3 separate regions of the Homo sapiens genome follow, and all the other regions are linked to region 2. The links are contacts of gene promoters, found by promoter capture Hi-C in blood cells and fetal thymus (Javierre and others, 2016). All regions are on one chromosome and are shown on one strand. The core of a region is centred on a gene start or on the middle of the fragment in contact, and the rest is flanking DNA. Distances in the headings are between cores, read along the strand shown.

The links. The method cuts DNA at HindIII sites, captures the fragments that hold promoters and counts their contacts. A CHiCAGO score of 5 or more calls a contact.
Region 1: a fragment that was not itself captured here is called in contact with the fragment with the promoter of ASPG in region 2 in 3 of 17 cell types (endothelial precursors, activated CD4 T cells and non-activated CD4 T cells); the score reaches 7.6 in endothelial precursors.
Region 3: a fragment that was not itself captured here is called in contact with the fragment with the promoter of ASPG in region 2 in 1 of 17 cell types (naive B cells); the score reaches 6.0 in naive B cells.

What each region holds. Positions count from the first base shown.
Region 1 is chr14:104,540,876-104,543,575 of GRCh38, forward strand. LOC124903395 (a long non-coding RNA gene) reads right to left here and starts at 923. Exons shown (of 2, transcript XR_007064361.1): 1 at 887-923. The HindIII fragment of the contact is 3,308 bases long and covers 1-2,700 here.
Region 2 is chr14:104,084,439-104,087,138 of GRCh38, forward strand. ASPG (asparaginase) reads left to right here and starts at 1,262. Exons shown (of 16, transcript NM_001080464.3): 1 at 1,262-1,414. The coding sequence starts at 1,333. The HindIII fragment of the contact is 21,966 bases long and covers 1-2,700 here.
Region 3 is chr14:103,805,888-103,808,587 of GRCh38, forward strand. All of the region lies in intron 1 of PPP1R13B (protein phosphatase 1 regulatory subunit 13B), which reads right to left. Among named protein-coding and RNA genes, the nearest start is that of PPP1R13B, 40 kb to the right of the region's middle. RefSeq lists an enhancer at 1,006-1,105. The HindIII fragment of the contact is 151 bases long and covers 1,352-1,502 here.

The DNA of each region.
Region 1 (2,700 bases), core at 45-2,544, 460 kb after region 2:
ATTTAAGGTTTTTACAGATTTCCTTTAGTTATTGATTTCTAATTTCAATCCACTGTGGTCAGAGAAAACACTTTTGTATAGTTTGAATGCTTTTTAATGTACTGAGACTTATGGCCCATAATACAGTGTATCTTGGTAAATGTTCTGTGTGCACTTAAGAAGAATGTATATTCTGCTCTTGTGTGGAGTGTCTTATAAATGACAATTGGGTCAAATTGATTGACAGTGTTCAAATCTATTTTTCATTAGTTTTTCCTACTTGTTCTATCAATTATTGAAAGAAGACTGTAATGTTCGTTTGTCTATTTGTCCTCGTAGTTCTATCAGTATTTGTTTCAGGTGTTTTGAAACTCTATTGTTAGGTTCATCAACGTTTATGATTGATAACTCTTCTTGATTAACTGACATCTTGGTCATTATGGAAATGACCTTCTTTATACCCCAACAATATTGTTTGTTCTGAAATCTACTTGGATATTGGTATAACCATACCAATTTTCTTTTAACTAATGTTAGTATAGTACATATTTTCTCATACCTTTACTTTAAATGTATATGTGTCTTTACAGCTAATATTTGTTTCTTATAGGCAGCATATAGTTAGGTCTTGCTTTTTTATCCAATGTTAAAATCCTTATCTTTTAATTTGGGTGTATAGGCCATTTTTACTTAATATGAATGTTGATATGATCTATTAAATTCTATTTGTCCCAATTTGATTTATAAGGCAGGATTTGAACAGATATTTAACCAAAGATGATATCTGAATGGCCAGTGAGCATGTTGGAGGATTCTCAACTTATTTTTCCATTACAAAAATGCAAATTAAAACTACAATGACATACAGCTGCACACTACTTAGAGGGGCTAAAGTGGCCGCCCTCACCTGGTGCTGGTGAGAATGTGGATGGACTAGGGCTCTCATTCACTGCTGGTAAGAATGTAAAACAGTGCAAGAACTTCGGAAAATAGTTTGGCAGGTTTTTTTAAAAGTTAAACATGCACCTGCCATATGACCCAGCCATTCCACTCATAGGTATTTTTACCCAAGAGAAAGGAGGTTTTTCTATACATATATCTGTATATCGATGTTACATCAACTTCATCTGAAATTGTCCAAACCTGGAAACAACTAAAACGCCCACCGACAGATGAAGAGAGAAATTGCTCCTCTATCCATACAGTGGAACATACTCAGCAACAGACGGATGAACTGTTGATACGTGAGACAACATGGAGAAATCTCAAAATAGTTATTCTGAGTGAAAAAACAGACAAAAAAGGGAGTACATATTTCATGACTCTATGTGTGTAAAATTCTAGAACACGCAAACTAATCCGTAGTGACAGAAAGCAGATCCATGGTTGCCTGGGGAGATGAAGCCACAGGAGATAGGGAGGAAGGAGAAAGGGAGTTCGAAAGCCAAGAAGAGGCTTTAGGAGCGGGGATTTGTACATCTTGATTGTGGTGACGCTTCACAAATGTATATATATGTCAAAACGTATCAAATTGTCCATTTTTAATATGTGTCACTAATTGTATGCCAATTACACCCCAAAAAAGCTGTTTTTCAAAAATCCAACTTAAACTTAGAATTTACCACCAAAAGAATACAAATAAGGACTAGGCCTTCCAAAACACTAGAGAAAAAATAAAATAGTAAAGAAAACAGCTCACAAAGCCAAAGATAGGGAAAGAAAAAGGATAACAAAGCATAAATAACAGATGTATCAACAAACATGTCTGTTTTGACAATAAACACTATTTAAAGAAAACCATCCAAATATACACTCCTCACAAAGGGTACACGTAAAATAAAATACTTAAATGTTAAAAAGAAAAGGAAAGCAAATATATGTTAGGCAAGCATAAACAATAAGAAAGAGAGTTGGTAAAATGAGTATCAGATAAAGCCAAAAAGCACTAAAAGAGACAAAGAGTAATTTGATTCTGAGGAACAATTAAAGACCCAATGAGGGCACAGCAACGATTAACCTTTAAGCAGGGAATAATTTATCATCCAAATCTACAAAGCAAAAACTGTAAGACATACAACTGGAAATTAGCAACAAAAAGGCAAATGTTAGCCCCAAGGATCAAGCTATATAAAGGCACACTTTGTTTAATTGTGTCCATTTTTAATTTGAATGGTGAGATTGTTTTGAATGAGTGGGAGAAAATTTACATCCTCCAACAGCGACTGTGAGACACAGCTTGAGGAGTGCATAGGGAACCCTTAGCCCTCCCTCCCCACCTGCCCAGCCCTACTTTGGGCCACGAGGAGAGGAGGCAGAGCAGAGACTGTCTTCAGCCATGAGAGTGATGGTGTGTGAGAGACTATTCCTTCTCCTAGTGGCAAACCCAGCTCAGAGCTGGCTCTTCTTTCTCCCTAGAGCCCAGGTCTCCAGCCCAAGGAACCGCCTCACCTTGTCATCCCAGGAGGGTTGGTGCCCACTTATCTGCAGCTTCCTGACCCAAATAGCCAGACCTTCCACAGGTTTGCCTACAAGAGGGCTAGTGCGTCCTGCAACTCAGATGCTTTTCCATCAAAATAAATGCCCATATAGAAGGAGTCAAGAATAAATACCCACATCCACCATCGCAGTGTGGTAAGAACATTACAAGGACACTGATGAGAATGAAGCCGGACATCACTGAGCCCCACCGTCCTGTGTCATGTTGGCTAAGGCCCCGTGCTC
Region 2 (2,700 bases), core at 12-2,511:
TCCACCTGGGAGCAAGCCTGCAGCTTGGGACCCTCCTGGGACCCTGCACCCGCCAGTGCCCTGCCCTCCTGGGCTCTCATGGGAGTGAAGGAGGGTGGGCTCTGTAGGAGTTAAAGAAAGAGGAAAGAAACATGAAAAGCGGCTCAACAAAGGCAGGTTTATTTTGGAGAATAAACCTGAAAGGGACTTCTGGCCGATTTTGGTCAGGAGCCATCTCTCCTACAGACTAAGGATCTTTAAGGGTTTAGGAAGTGGGGAGCTTATCGCAGGCTCGGAATGTTTCTATGTGAGGGAAAGTTTATTGCGGGCTTGGAATGTCTCTGGTCGGAGGGGAGGTTATCTCGAGGTTGGCATGTTTCTGATTGGAGATGTTATTTGTGGTTTACGGTCGTGCTGACATTAGCTATTGGGCTGATGTGTTTTGGGCTGGATTTAGGCAGCTTTTTAATCAAAGGGAACCTAAAATGGCGGTGTTTGTCCAAGAAGGCCATACTCCTGCTCTGTCCCGCTCCAGCCCTTGGGGGCCCCTCGGGCTCTTCTCTTGGATGGTGTGTGAATGGGCACATGTGGAGGGGCTGGTCCAGCTCTGCCTGCCTCTGGCCATCCAAAGGAGGGACAGCAGGGCCTGGGCAGCAATGCCGGCCTTGGAGCCCCGGGGCTGTGGAGGCTGCTTGACAGGACACGGAGCCCCCTCTGTGCTCAGGTCGTGGAGGGCCTCGGGCACTACGGTCTGCCAGGCACCACATGTCACAGCTACTCAAACACCCAGGGCCGCCACGGAGGGCCAATGGCCGCAGGATGGCTCAGGACCCGCCCCACCCCTGTCGCTGCCTTTCTGGCTGCCCCCTAGTCCCTGGACAGGCGCTCCCCAGCCCCAAGCAGGCCCCAGCCAATCTCCTGCCCAGGCAGGAGCTCCCCCTGCCGCCCTCACAGACCTCACCTCTTCCTACACGTTTCCAAGGCCGCGCCCCGCCCCGCACCCCGCCAGGCCCCGCCCCGCACCCCGCCAGGCCCCGCCCCGCACCCCGCCAGGCCCCGCCCCGCACCCCGCCAGGCCCCGCCCCCACCCCGCCAGGCCCCGCCTCTCTCTCCGACCCTGGACAGTCCCCGGGACCCACCCCGCCCCCAGGTCCTGCCCCCGCCCGCCTCCGCGGGGCCTCCCACCCTCCCGGGCAGACTCCACTCCCGCCCCCTCCCCGTGGGTGCCCCCGCCGGCCCCGCCCTCCCAGGCTGCCCCCGGCGCCCCGGGCCTCCTCCGCGCAGTCCCTGAGTCCCGCAGGCCCTGCGTCCCCGCTGCACACCCCCGTCCACTCCCGTGGTCCCCGGTCCGGCATGGCGCGCGCGGTGGGGCCCGAGCGGAGGCTGCTGGCCGTCTACACCGGCGGCACCATTGGCATGCGGAGTGAGCTCGGCGGTGAGTCCGAGACCCTGGGCGGGGTAGGCCTCTGGACCTGGCCGCGACCGGGAGCCTCGGACCCTCCTGCACCCACGGGGGTCGTTGGGGAGTCAAATCCGCGCCTGGATGGGGGGTGCGGGCTGAGGTCGCTCTCCTCCGGTTCCGGCCACCGGCGTCCCCACGCATGGAGCCCCGACCTGGACAGAGGAGATTGCGGTGGGTTCTCGCCGTCGCGGTGCTCCCGGGAGCGCCCTGCGACCCTGGGGCCAGGCCCCCTGTGCTGCCGCTGCGCCCCTGAGGGCCAGCGTCCTGAAGTCCTGGAATATGGGGCGGGAGGGCCCCAGGGCATTGGCCTGCCGCTCCTGCTCTGGACACAGAAGGCTTAGGAGGCTGCCCTGGAGAAGGCTTAGGAGGCTGCGAGGACCCCTCAACTGCGACACCCAGGAGGGTGTCCCCGTCCCCTGGGGTCCTGGTCAGGCAGCAGTGGTTGGCACGATACTGGGGCTACCTGGCATCTGCGGGGACGCACGTGTTCACACCCGAGGTGGCCTCAGAGCCCTGCTTCCTCTGCCCCTGTGTGGACCTGGTTGACCAGAGACCAGCGATTGCGTCTGGACTGAGTTCTGCCTGGGTGGGGTCAGGGCCTGGGACAGGCACCGAGCTCTGTGGTACTCCAGCACAGTGCTGCCAGCCTGGGCTGGGCACAGGAAGGATGGTAGCTTGGGGAGCCTGAGGCCACCGGGATGGGGAGAGGACGGTTGCACTGGAGCCTCCAGAATGCCTGGGTGTTCCCCAGGAGGGCAGGACACTGCCTGGGGCCCCCAGATGGGCTCTGCTGTGATGTGGGGCCTCCCTTGGGGCCAGGACAGCCCCCTCGCCCCGTCTTGAACCTGTTTGCGACCCTCCATGGGCCACTGCCTGCCTTTCCCTCAGGAGCCCTTTCCACTCCTCCTCCTCCCACTCCCTGCTGCCCTGGCCCCTCCCCACACTCCTGCTTGTGTCCAGCGCAGCTCTCTCTCCTGGGACGGCTGGGACCCTCTCCGGCTCTGCCAGAGCCCAGGGCCTCCCCTGGCATGACCAGAACATTCTCTTGTCCCTTGCCCATCTGCCAACCACTTCCCCGCCCCTCCTATCCCCACCCCCTCTCACGGCCTGTTCCCTGGCAGCTGCCCCTCCTGGCCACCCCTTTCTGCTGAAGTGGCTGCTCAGAAGCCACCAGCACTCTGTCGGTGCTCTCAGATTCCACCCACCACACTGTGGCCGGTGCAGACCCCTCTGGAGGCCCACTCTGCGCCCAGCCCAGG
Region 3 (2,700 bases), core at 177-2,676, 280 kb before region 2:
GGCAAATAGGCACAAACTTTGTTTTGGTATGACAGTAATGTTCTAAAATTAGATTGTGGTGATGGCTGTACAACTATGTAAATTTACTAAAGATCACTGAATGTTCACTTAAAATAGGTAAACTTTACGGCACATAAATTATAACACAATGAAGCTGTTTTTAAAAAGTAGGATATATAAAACTTCTAGAAAAGGAATTCAGAAACTTGACTTACATGGTACAAAGAACCCTGGAATAGGAAGCCCAAGTTCTATCCTTAGCTATGGCATTGACTGCTGCAACTGGCTGGGGAAGCTGCTCCTTAGTCTATCTCTGGGTCTTGGTTTCTTGGCAAGAACTCAGCAGATAATATGAAACACATATTTGCAGGAAAATGGCTCTCAGGCTTTTCTGGCCCAACCCAATCAGGTAAAGTATTAGATCCCCCAGCTCACCTATACCATCTACTACTTCTTTCTGGTGGAAAAGGAGCTCAGGGATAACAAAAAATAACTGAAGAGAAATAAGGTGATAAAAGCTATACTAAATTTTAGTAACTTGCAATAACTCACTTGGTAGGTTATGAGTAAATAGCTCATAAAAGCCACAGAAAGGATCAGTTGGGGTGAGGGTGGGTGAACACCAGGAAGACCCCTTTAGCTTTCCAGCAGGCCACGCACCCCAAAATGAGAATTGATGCTAAGGTCCCTTCTGGCCCTGATTGCAACTCAGTTCACCAATTTAAAATCTCAGAAACATTAGAGCTGTAAGGAAAACTAAGTCTAAGCCATCACCCTAAATGCTTCATCTCACTTTCCTCAATTAGCCTCTCAAAGACTGAAAAACACACCTGGGAGTTGCTGTCATCCACACAGAAAAAGGAGAATAAAATAAAGGATTGGCTCAACTCCCTTCTCTCTCATACTCCACAAACAATCCATTAGCAAGACTGTCAACCTCGTACCCAGAAACTGATAACTCGTCTCCCTGGCTACTACCCAAGCCCGAGCCACCACCACCTCTCAGAAAGGATGTCTGCAAGAGCAAACTCATTCATCTGTTTCCACTCTCACCCTTCAGATACATCACTTCATTCAAAACCTTCCCGTGGTTTCCTCTCTGAGAATAAATTTCAAAGTCCTAACTATTGTCTAAGAGGCCCTGCAAGACCTGCAACACACACATGCATACCTCTCTGATCTCAGTGCTTACCACACTCTTCATCCCTTCTGCCTCCCTCAACAGGGCAAGCCAACTCCTGCCTCAGGGGCTTTGCACTTGCTATTCTCTGCATAGACCGCTTCACTCAGCTACTGACATTGTATTACCCTCTTCTTTCAGGCCTCTGCTGGAATGGTGTCTTAGCAAGGAAGCTTTCCTTAACCGAGAGTCTACCTAAAATAGCACTACTCCATCCCTCTGTCCTCCTACCCTGGTTTATGTATTTCTGCTTAGCACTCAACCACCACCTGATCTATGTATATATTTGTTTATCCTCTGTCTGTTGTCACTAGAACACATAAGCTTCTTGAGAGCAGAGTTTCAGTTAATTACCTGCTGTGTCAGTAGTGCCTGAAGCAGTGCCTGGCACGTAAGAAGCACTCAATAAACTCCCCCAATTATACGTAAAATGTCCCTTTTTTTTGAGACAGAGTATCACGCTGTTGCCCAGGCTGGACTGCAGTGGCGCGATCTCGGCTCACTGCAAGCTCTGCCTTCCGGGTTCACGCCATTCTCCTGCCTCAGCCTCCCAAGTAGCTAGGACAAAAAGTGCCTGCCACCACGCCCGGCTAATTTTTTGTATTTTTAGAAGAGACGGGGTTTCACCATGTTAGCCAGGATGGTCTCGATCTCCTGACCGTGTGATCCATCCACCTTGGCCTCCCAAAGTGCTGGGATTATAGGCGTGAGGCACCACACCTGGCCACGAAATGTCTTTTTATAGTAGGTTTCTTGAATCATGACAGGTAGGTGTTTGCCTGTTTTCTCATCTTCAAGTTCTCTGTAGAAAAGACAATATTTTACCCCTCTAATCACTGAATTAGTCCACATCAAAGAGAAGAAAAATATTCTTAAAAAAAGTTAGTGTAAGGCTGGGCACAGTGGCTCATGCCTATAATCCCAGCACTTTGGGAGACCAAGGTAGACAGATCATTTGAGGTCAGGAGTTCGAGACCAGCCTGGCCAACATGGCGAAACCCCATCTCTACTAAAAATACAAAAAAAAATTAGCTGGGCGTGGTGGCACCTGCCTATAATCCCAGCTACTCAGAGGCTGAGACAGTGGAATCCCTTGAACCCAGGAGGCAGAGGTTGCAGTGAGCCAAGATCACGCCACTGCACGCCAGCCCGGGCGACAGTGACTCTATCTCAAAAAAAAAAAAAAAATTAGTGTGAAAGTCAGGAGCCTTGAACATAACTATGTGGTATTCGGCAGATTTCACTCAAACCTAGAGAAACAATGGATGTCCCTTGCTCTAAAGCAGGGGTGTCCCAACTTTGGGCTTCCCTGGGCCACACTGGAGAATTGTCTTGGGCTACACATAAAATACACTAACACTAATGATAGCCAATGAGTTAGAAAAAAAGATCATTAAAAAACATATATATATCATGATGTTTTAAGAAAGTTTACTAATTTGTGTTGGGCTGCATTCAAAGCTGTCCTGGGCCTCCTGTGGCCCGGTGCCATGGGTTGGACAAGCTTGAGCTAAAGCTTC